Regions from separate parts of the Homo sapiens genome. Here all the other regions are linked to region 2. The links are contacts of gene promoters, found by promoter capture Hi-C in blood cells and fetal thymus (Javierre and others, 2016). All regions are on one chromosome and are shown on one strand. The core of a region is centred on a gene start or on the middle of the fragment in contact, and the rest is flanking DNA. Distances in the headings are between cores, read along the strand shown.

Region 1 (2,700 bases), core at 50-2,549, 530 kb before region 2:
GGCTGGACGGCAATGGCATGATCTCTGCTTACTGCAACCTCCGCCTCCTGGGCTCAAGAGATTCTCCTGTCTCGGCCTCTGGAGTAGATAAGATTACAGGCGTGTGCCACCATGCCAGGCCAATTTTTTGTATTTTTAGTAGAGATGGGGTTTCACCATGTTGGCCAGGCTGATCTCGAACTCCTGACCTCAAGTCGTCCACCTGCCTCGGCCTCCCAAAGTGCTGGGATTATGGGGATGAGCCACCATGCCCAGTTTGTGCCAATTTAAATAATTCCATTTATTGCATATAAATAAGGTATTGAGGAATTTGCTTAAATTTTGAGTATTAAAATGTGGAATTTTTGATCATGTAGTAAAACATTCATTTCAGACAGATCTTACTACTTTTTGGATGATTGGTTAATATTGTGAATAGCTTATGACTAGACTACAAGACACTATACGTGTGTGGATGTGTACATTTATGTATCTTTGAAAGCTGATCATGGAACTCCTGGGGATACACCATAGCTTATTTAAGATTTTCTAAGTCACCATATTAAATGATGGAAGAATGATAAAAGAGATCATTAATCAAGTCATCAAACTGTAAGTTTCTCCAAGACACGGGCCTAAAAAACATTTATGGAGTGAAGCTTTCATTTGCATAAGAATTGGCTTGATTTTCACAAAGAAACAAAAACTAATGGAGGCTTATCCTTCTGGATTTCTGTGGCAGATATTCTAATAAAAACTTTTTTTGGTGTTGTGATATCAGCAAGATGGTGGAACAGAAGATTGCCGAGCATCACTCCCCCTACCAAGATACAACCAGAAACTATTCAAACACAAGGATACCACCCTGAATATGCTAGAACTCTGAAGAGAAGTGGAGAAACCCTCTGGGCCCACAGAATCAAGAAACTATGATTAGTAAGAGAAACAGTCATTTCACACGGTGCCAACTGCCCCCTCCCTACAAGCTGGCAAAACTCAAAGAGAATTTCCCTAGACCCATGATTCTGGTAAGAGGGAATTAGAAGTGGAAAATTGCTCTCCTTGCTGGTCTGGGCATCTTTGCAAGAAGCCCACTCCAGTTCCATCCCACGGAACCACTGGGAGTGCCTGGAGGCCAGAAACACCTGGGGTGAACTGGGGAGAAAGAATAGGGTGCTGATCACAGCAACTGGTGCACATCACAGCAACTGGTGCACGGATCTTGGCAGCCACTCGGCACATTGGCCAGTGGGAATGCCATGTTGAAGGGAGTGGCCAGTGCAAAAGCACTGCAAGGGGCACAATCCAAGCGAAGGATCAAATCCCTAGATGTATTTTCCACAAAGCCCAGGTGACTGTATAAAGTCTTTCCTTGGCCTGGAAACAACTAAAAGGTCAGGATTAAGTTGCAGTACCCACTTAAGGATTTCCCAGGTTGGGAAATAATGTAAGGCCAGCAATATAGTTCCAGGGAAGTGTTTAAGCTCCAGTACTAAGAGTCTTCACCAGACTGAGAAAGAACAGAAGTGCAGTGACTTGGTTCTGGAATACTGTTTAAATTCCACTATAAGTTCTTGCCAGACCAAGAAAAAAACAAGAGGCCAGGGTTCAAGTTCTGAAACTAAGAAGTAAAGGTCTAACACTACCAAAGAAAACTTGCAAAAAAGTGGAAGCGGTAGCTATCTCTTCAAATACACAAGCATCAACTTAAGTCAGGGAAATATTACACTACCAAACAAAACCAGCAGAGGTCCAGCAACAGATCCAGAAAAACTGAAGATCTATGAAATGTCTGACAGGCAATTCAGGGTAATCCTCTTAAAAAGAATTTTAAGGAATTACATACACACAAAAAATCCAAATAGAAAACTAAATCAAATTTGAAAAACAAAATGAGAAATATGATGAATAGAAACAATTTTTAAAAATCAAATATACATCCTAGAAATAAAGAATATAACTGAAGTGAAAAACTCACTAGAAAGCTTCAACAGCAAACTTGACCAAACAGAGGAAAGAATTAGTAAGCCTGAAGGCAGAACTTATGAAATTACCTAGTCAGAAGAGCAAAAAGAAAAAAAGAATTTAAAAAGCCTATGAGAATTATGGGACACGTTCAAGCAAACTAACTTCTGCAAAATTAGCATTCCCAAAGGAGACGAGAGAGAAAAAGGGCCTGGAAAGCATATTAAAAGAGTAAGGCTGAAAATTCCCCAAATCTGGAGAAAGACAACAGCATCCAGGAACAGAAAGCTCAGATGTCATCAAACAAATTCAACCCAAAGAGGAATTTCCCAAGGCATATCATAATCAAATTAACAAAAATCAAGGACAAAGAAGAAATATTCAAAGCATCAAAAGAAAAGAATCATATCATATTCAATGGAGCTCCTATATGGCTTTCAGTAGATTTATCAGCAGAAATCTTGAAGGTCAGGATAGACTGGGATGCTATATTCAAAGTTTTGAAGAAAGAAAACTGCTATCCAAGAATACTGTACCTAACAATATCCTTCAAACATGAAAGACAGATAAAGACTTTCCCAGACAAATAGAAGCTGAGGGAATTCATCAACACCAGAGCTGCCTTATAAAAAATGCCAAAAGGAGTTCTTCAATTTGAAAGAAATGAATGCTAATGTGTTGGCAGAAAAGCTCAGGCAGGATTGGCTTGTCTGTCATAATATAAAAGAGTCTTGGAAAATGTCCGGGGTCCAGGGT
Region 2 (2,700 bases), core at 34-2,533:
TTAAGGGTGGAGGAGTCCTCACTTTTCCTGACTATAAGCTTATACCTAGAGCCAAAACGAACTATAATCCTAAAGGTCAGCTGGCCCTGGGGCTGAGCAGGCTCTAGTCTTCTCCAGGTGTTCAGGTGCTTGCAGCTATTGAATAGTGATAAGGACACAGAAATTGCTCCATATATTTCATTAACAATGAATACAGACTGAACACCTACATGTGTAGACATTCTTCTAGGCTCAGGGATACAGTTGACAAGGTTTCTGGATTTTGAGAGCTTACATCTAGAGGAGGATACAGATGATAAATATACTAGGCCAGCATTCTCTAGTATGGTAGCCACCAGCCACAGCTGGCTATTTAAATTTAAATTAAATTAAATTAAATTAAATTAAATTAAAATGTCTGTTTCCTGCCACACTAGTCACATTTTAGGTGTTCAATAGCCACATGTGGCCAGTGGTTACCATATTGAACAACATCGATTTAGAATATTTGCATCATCACAGAAAGTTTATTTTTGGAAAGCACTGCTCTAGGGAATTTTGGATAGTAATCAGTGCTAGGAGGAAGCTAAAAGGCTGATGCCATAGAGAGTTGACACTGAGGCTCCTTTATATTAGATGGCCTGGGATGGCCTCTCTGAGGAGGTGATATTTATGCCATATCTGAAGGACAAGAGGAGCCAGCCATGCGAACAGCAGGGGCAGAGCGTTTGAGATGGAGTGAACAGTTAGTCAAAGGTCCTAAGGCAAAAAGTGCTCAGCATTTTGGAGAAATGACCAATGTGGCAAGAATATCACGCTTCGGAGCAGAGTGAGAGAGAAGGCCAAAGCATCTTGTAAGACCACTGGCAAGAGTTTGGATCCCATTCTAAGTCCTGTAGGAAGCCATTAAGGAGAGAAACGTCACAATCTGCTGAGTGGTGAATGGTTTTGAGAATGGCAGGTGTCCAAGCTGGGAGATCACAGCAAGGCAAGGAATGACAGTGGCTGAGATTAGGGTGATGACCCTGGAGATGAAGAGATAAAAGAGATCCAGACACATTGATGTTTATGCCTAGCTTTCCCTATCTGGCAATAAAAGGAGTAAGGGACGATGGATGGTTGGTAGGGAGGAGAGTGGAGGAGCTAGGATAATGAGAAAGTACTTATTTTACTTACCTGTACAAAGTAGGTGAACGAAGTCAGTTACTTGCAACCATAACTGAGCCTGTGTCAGAGGGGCTGGTGTAACTCTGTGCCCTCCTCTCTTTGACAGGGAGTACGAGAGCCTGTACACGAGCCACATCTGGATCCCCAGCAGCTGGTGCTCACTCACTGAAGGTCCTGAGTGTGATGTCACTGATGACATCACGGCCACTGTGCCATACAACCTTCGTGTCAGGGCCACATTGGGCTCACAGACCTCAGCCTGGAGCATCCTGAAGCATCCCTTTAATAGAAACTCAAGTAAGGCACTTCTCTCCTTACACTCCCACCCCAACCAGCCCCTCCTTTAGGAACCATGTTCACCTAAACTTTCTAGACTCTTTTTAGCATCAGAATAGTCCTGCAAAGCCAGAGTATTGTGAACACAAACAACCCTTACTGGTATATTTGAAAAATTGCCAACTGCTTTCTACATGCTGCTCTCTGTCATGCCCTTTGACTACTCAAGTCATTCCTGACTGTCTGTGTCAGGGTGTGCAGGTGTTGGGGATGCTGACATTGGGAACCTGGAAGGAAAGCTGCTCTGGAAGTGAAGAGGTGGCACCAGGACTGCTGCTCCCTACTCTGATTGTGCCTCCATAAATTGTGCCTCCCACTTGAGGCCTCATTAACTGCATATTTACTGCCCACGTAAGCAGCTTTGTTGTGCAAGAGGATTTATACACTTAACAGAGCCACCAGAAAATTGCCCTTCTGTAATGACTTCTGTGGGAAATAAATAACTTTTCTTTTGGAGTAGTACCTGGAAAAGGATTGAGAAAGAAGTAATAGAGGAATCCAGATAGGTGGCCAAATGTGGCTGAGTACAAGCACTGGTCATTGTATAAAAGGACATGTGTGTTTGCGGAACAGGAGAGGCAAGGGCTGATGGGCAGGGGGTAGGGAAGCAGTTGATCATGTGGTGAAGGGCTTTGACACGAAGCTTGACCAAGTCAGTAGAGGGTAGCCAATGAAAGAGGAGAGGATCTAGACCAGGTCTATCTCTTTTTTTTTTTGATACGGAGTCTCACTCTGTCACCCAGGTTGGTGTGCAGTGGCGTGATCTCAGCTCACTGCAACCTCTGTCTCCTGGGTTCAAGTGATTCTCCTGCCTCAGCCTCCTGAGTAGCTGGGACTACAGGCGTGCACCACCATGCCTGGCTAATTTTTGTATTTTTAGTAGAGACAGGGTTTCACTATGTTTTCCAGGCTGGTCTGGAACTCCTGACCTCAAGTCATCTGCCCACTTCGGCCTCCCAAAGTGCTGGGATTACAGGCATGAGCCATGGCGCCCGGCCGACCAGGTCTATCTTACAAAGCAACACTCTGGCTGCTGTGTGGAAAGTGAACCAGAGTAGGGCAAGCCTGCAGGACAGGGGAAGAGTGAGGAGGGGGTTGTAATACTCCTACTGATCCCAAGAGTTTGGAAGGGGATGGGAAGGAGATGATGAATCCAAGAAACATGGCTGATTTAGAAAGGACAGAGCTTAGGAATCAAGTTTGTGGGGACAGAAAAGG
Region 3 (2,700 bases), core at 10-2,509, 620 kb before region 2:
AGGAATGACAATATATGAAATATAGGGTTAAGAGGTTTGTTTTTTCACTTATTATATTTCAAACAAGAACATTATATAAAAGAAGACCATTTACATACATGGTGCTATGATTTTTCCCACCCAGTAACAAAATATACCAAAAAGTTCTTAAGCTGGGTGGAGTTTTATAAATTGCATATCTGTTAGCTATTTCCTGTGAAAATAACAACAAAAACAGAACCCTGGAGGTAATATACAAGCAATTATCATTCCACTACCAAATCTAAAAACTTAATTTTATCTGTAGACATCTACCTTTCCTCCTGTTATGAGGGGTGAACTGTCCAGACTTTCACCTAAAGCCATTCCCTCCTATGTATTAGATAAGAAGGGAGTATGTAAGGTTTCGCCTGCTCAATAGTTTTGCTCTTGTGTTTACTGCTCTCTCCTGCCTCCTAAACTATTCCTTCTGTACTAGATGTATACATCTTAAAAATACTCTTAACTTCTTGACCCCATTTCCTCTGCCAGCTACTAACCCATTTCTCTGATTCCCTTTATAGCAAAGGTCCTGAAAAGTATTGTTGACATTTCTTTTCTTCAGTCTCTCACCTCCCAATCTCTCAATTTATTCTAATCACACCATTCACTGAAATAGCTCCTGGGTGCTAATATGTTCTGCACCTTTTTAGTTTTCTTCAGCAATAGATTGGCCTGAACTACTTGCTATGTCATTACTGAAGGAACAGTTCTTCCAGGGATTTCAAATTTATTCATAGATAATTGTTTATAAATTCTTTTTTTTTCCTGAGGAGTCTCGCTCTGTCACCCAGGCTGGAGTGCAATGGCATGATCTTGGCTCACTGCAAGCTCCACCTCCTGGGTTCATGTCATTCTCCTGCCTCAGCCTCCTGAGTAGCTGGGGCTACAGGCGCCCGCCACCACACCCAGCTAATTTTTTGTATTTTTAGTAGAGAGGGGGTTTCACCATGTTAGCCAGGATGGTCTCGATCTCCTGATCTTGTGATCTGCCCGCCTCAGCCTCCCAAAGTGCTGGGATTACAGGCTGTTTATAAATTCTTAAACTTTAAAATGTTTTCACATATTGGTATATACAATAGCCTTAAACTTTAAAACTTAAAGTGTACATTTAAAGTGAATACAAAGAATACATTTTGTTGTGAAAAATTCAAAGAATATCAAAGTAAAAGTTATTCTTTCTCTCTTCTACCAAATACCATTATTCTCTCCAAAGGTAACCAGTGTTTAAAGTCTGAAAGTTTTCTAGATCAGTGTAGACATATTACTTTTACAGCTAAAGTTTTTATTTTTACATAAATGGTAGCATACTGCATTTGTCCTGAAACTTGCTATTTTTCACTCAATATTTTGTCTTAAAAATCCTTTATCTAGCTCAGTTTATTTAACCATTCCCCTGTTGATAGACATTTAGACTATTTCCAGTTTGTTACTATTACAGAGACTGCTGCAATAAAACATCTTTTACATATATTTATTGGTACACACCTGTGCATATCCATGTAGATACCTAGAAGCAAAATTACTGGCTTAAAGGGAATATATATCTTCAATTTTGGAATATACTACAAAACTGTCTTCTAACAAGGCAGTTTTCAAAAGGGGCCTTTTCCTCTATATCTTTGTCAATCATTTTCATTCATGCCAATCTGTTGAGCAGTAAGTATCCATTTTAATTTGTATTTCATTAATAATAATTATTATTATTAGAAATGGGGTCTCACTCTGTCACCTAGGCTGGAAGGCAGAGGTGCAATCATAACTCACTGCAGCTTGGACCTCCCAGGCTCAAGCCATCCTGTCACTTTACCCTCCCGAGTAGCTGGGACTACGGGGTGCGTGCCAACACATCTGGCTATTTTTGTTTTTGTTTTTGGAGACGGGGTCTTGCCATGTTGCCCAGGCTGGTCTTGAATTCATGGGCTCAAGCAATCTGCCTGCCTTGGCCTCCCAAAGTGCTGGAATTACATGTGTGAGCCACTGTGCTTGGCTTTCATTAATTATTAATTACTTATGTTATATATAATTAATGCTTCTTTTCTTTCTTTTTTTTGAGACAGAGTTTTGCTCTTGTGGCCCAGGCTGGAGTGCAATGGCATGATCTTGGATACCTGCAACCCCCGCCTCCCAGGTCCAAATGATTGTCTTGCCTCAGCCTCCTGAGAGTAGCTGAGATTACAGGCACCCGCCACCACGCTTGGCTAATTTTTTGTATTTTTAGTAGAGATGGGGTTTCATCATGTTGACCAGGCTGGTCTCGAACTCCTGACCTCAGGTGATCTACCCGCCTCGGCCTCCCAAAGTGCTGGGATTACAGGTGTGAGCCACTGCGTCCAGCCTAATGCCTCTTCTCATGTTTACTGGTTTGTAAGATTCTTCCTTGGAAAAGTGCCTTTTTCATATCCCTCGCTCACTTTTCTATGGGATTTATTTATCTTTCCTACTGATCTGTAGGATTTGTTATGTAGGACTGAAAATATTTCCATCTGTCACTTTTTTTTTAACTTTGCTCAAAGTGCTGATTGATGTATACATCTATTTAATCTATTTAAATTTATACAGATTGGCTGGGGCAAGGTGGCTTATGTCTATAATCCCAGCACTTTGGGAGGCCGAGGTAGGTGGATCACTTGAGGCCGAGGAGTTTGAGACCAGCCTGGCCAACATGGTGAAACATCATCT
Region 4 (2,700 bases), core at 150-2,649, 550 kb before region 2:
ATAATACATATTACATACAAAATGTGTTAATCCATTGTTTGTGTTAACAGCTTTAAGGCTTCTGATCATTTAGGTTATTGGTAGGCTATAGTAGTTAAGTTCTGGGGGAATCAAAAGTTACACGTGAATTTTTTAAATTTTAAGATTCATAAAAATATTTCATAAATTTGCATGTCATCCTTGCAAAGGGGCCATGCTCATCTTCTCTATATTGATCCAAATTCAGTATATCTGCTGCCGAAGTGAGCACACATGGATTTTTGACTGTGCAGGTCAGTGCCACTAACCCCTGCATTGTTCAAGGGTAAACGGTATATAATTTCACCCTTAAATATTTCAGCATATGTCTCTAGCAGATGAGGACCACTATAATTCCTCTGTTTTTATTTTTAAATATGAATGATTACTGTAGGGATTATAATATACATTTTTAACTTGTAACTGACTTCAGGTTGATATTGAATTAATTATAATAAAACATAGCAATTTTGCTCCAATATAGTTCCATATCTTTTTCCCTTTTGTGTTACTCTTGTCACATATATTTATGTTATAATCTCAACACTATAGTGCTATAATTATCTACTTAAATCAGGGGTATCCAATTTTTTGGCTTCCCTGGGCCACAATGGAAGAACAATTGTCTGGGGCTACACATAAAATACACTACCACTAACGATAGCTGAAGAGCTTAAAAAAAAAAAAAAAAAGCGAAAATATCTCATAGTGTTTTAAGTTTAAAAATTTGTGTTGGGCTGCATTCAAAGCTGTCCTGGGCCACATGCAGCCTGCAGGCCACAGGTTGGACAAGCTTGATTTAAATAATTTCATGTTCTTTCAAGGAAATTAAGAGAAGGAAACAGACATAGACAGACACACACACACACACACACACACACACACACACACACACACACACAGCCTTTTACCTTTTATATCCACTCACATACTTACCATTTCAGATTTACATTCTTCCTTTTTTTTTTTGGAGACAGAGTCTTACTCTGTCACCCAGGCTAGAGTGCAGTGGGGTGATCTCAGCTCACTGAAACTTCTGCCTTCTGGGTTCAAGCAATTCTCCTGCCTCAGCCTCTCGAGTAGCTGGGATTACAGGCATGTGCCACCATGCCCAGCTAATTTTTGTAATTTTAGTAGAGATGGGGTTTCGCCATGTTGGCCAGGCTGGTCTTGAACTCCTGACCTTAGGTAATCCACCTGCCTTGGCCTCCCAAAGTGACAGGACTGCAGGAGTGAGCCACTGCACCCAGCCCATTCCTTCTTTTTTCATTCCTTCTTGTGGATTTGTTTTATCACCTTATGATATTCCTTATGGCTTGAAGGACTTTTCTTTTTTTTTGAGTCACAGTCTCACTCTGTTGCCCAGGCTGGAGTGCAGTGGCACGATCTTGGCTCACCACAACCTCTGCCTCCCGGGTTCAAGAGATTCTCCTGCCTCAGCCTTCCGAGTGGCTGGGACTACAAGCGTATGCCACCATGCCTGGCTAATTTTTGTATTTTTAGTAGAGATAGGGTTTCCCATGTTGGCCAGGCTGGAGTCGAACTCCTGACCTTGTGATCCACCTGCCTCAGCCTCCCAAAGTGCTGGGATTACAGGCGTGAACCACTGTGCCTGGCTGAAGGACTTCTTTTAGCATTTCTGGTATGGGAGATCTAGCAACACATTCTCCAAATTTTTCCTTTTTGTTTCTCTGGTAATGGTTTTTTACACCTTCATCTTTGGAAGATAATCTTATTAAATTTGTAATTCTTGGTTGGCCATTTTGTTGACTTTCACTGAATATGTCATTCCACTGTCTTCTGGACTCCACTATTTCTGATAAGCTAACTGTTAATACTATTGCTACTGCCCTCTACATTAGTTGTTGATCTCTTGTTGCTTTCAAGATTTTTTGTCTTTGTCTTTTAACAATGTGACTATGTTGTGTCTATATGTGGAACTTTTGTGTTTATTTTATTTGGATTTTGTTAAGCTTCTTGAATCTGCAAATTGTCTCTCATCAAATTTGGGAGGTTTTCAGTGATTATTTCTTCAAATATTTTTTCTGCCTCTATTCCTCTCTCCTTTCCTTCTGGGATTCCCATTATACATATTTCAGTGCACATGATGGTGGTTCCACACATTTCTGAGGCTCTGATAGTATTTCTTCAATCTTTTTTCTTCTCTGTTCTTCAGAATGGATAATTTCTATTAATCTTCATGTTTTTCTATTGTCTCTTTCATCATCTTAAATCTGCTAATTAACTTACTCAGTTAATTTTAAATTTGTGCATTGTACTTCTCACCAGAAATTCCATTTGGGTTTTCATTATTGAGATTCTCTACTTCTTGTTTTCATATTTTCCTGTAATTCTTTGAATATACTTATTAAAAGGCCTCTGAAGTCTTTGCCTGCTAAATCCAACATATAGCCCTACTGAGAAGCCATTTCTATTGTCTGCTTTTTTTCCTGAGTATGGTCACATTTTACTGTTTCTTTGCATGGCTGTAGTTTTTCTTGAAAGTAGACATTTTTGAATAATACAGTAACTAAAGATTTTAATTTTTGTTTTCTTTTTTTTTGGGGGGGGGGGGGCACAGAGTCTTGCTCTGTCACCCAGGCTGGAGAGCAGTGGCATGATCTGGGCTCCCTGCAACCTCTGCCTCTGGGTTCAAGTGATTCTCCTGCTTCAGCCTCTCGA

Evidence for each region. The method cuts DNA at HindIII sites, captures the fragments that hold promoters and counts their contacts. A CHiCAGO score of 5 or more calls a contact.
Region 1: a fragment that was not itself captured here is called in contact with the fragment with the promoter of IL20RB-AS1 in region 2 in 11 of 17 cell types (monocytes, naive CD8 T cells, neutrophils and 8 more); the score reaches 8.5 in monocytes.
Region 3: a contact is called between a fragment that was not itself captured here and the fragment with the promoter of IL20RB-AS1 in region 2, in 7 of 17 cell types (neutrophils, monocytes, naive B cells and 4 more). The highest score is 8.8, in neutrophils.
Region 4: a fragment that was not itself captured here is called in contact with the fragment with the promoter of IL20RB-AS1 in region 2 in 4 of 17 cell types (activated CD4 T cells, neutrophils, total B cells and 1 more); the score reaches 6.4 in activated CD4 T cells.

The regions. Positions count from the first base shown.
Region 1 is chr3:136,454,423-136,457,122 of GRCh38, forward strand. The region is part of intron 13 of STAG1 (STAG1 cohesin complex component); the gene reads right to left. Among named protein-coding and RNA genes, the nearest start is that of PCCB, 210 kb to the left of the region's middle. The HindIII fragment of the contact is 1,326 bases long and covers 637-1,962 here.
Region 2 is chr3:136,980,908-136,983,607 of GRCh38, forward strand. IL20RB-AS1 (IL20RB antisense RNA 1) reads right to left here and starts at 1,284. Exons shown (of 4, transcript NR_183729.1): 1 at 1,156-1,284. It overlaps IL20RB (interleukin 20 receptor subunit beta), which reads left to right. Exons shown (of 7, transcript NM_144717.4): 3 at 1,253-1,443. The HindIII fragment of the contact is 2,087 bases long and covers 37-2,123 here.
Region 3 is chr3:136,359,902-136,362,601 of GRCh38, forward strand. All of the region lies in intron 26 of STAG1 (STAG1 cohesin complex component), which reads right to left. Among named protein-coding and RNA genes, the nearest start is that of PCCB, 110 kb to the left of the region's middle. The HindIII fragment of the contact is 9,862 bases long and covers 1-2,700 here.
Region 4 is chr3:136,429,934-136,432,633 of GRCh38, forward strand. The region is part of intron 16 of STAG1 (STAG1 cohesin complex component); the gene reads right to left. It also overlaps the pseudogene RNU6-1284P. Among named protein-coding and RNA genes, the nearest start is that of PCCB, 180 kb to the left of the region's middle. The HindIII fragment of the contact is 1,180 bases long and covers 810-1,989 here.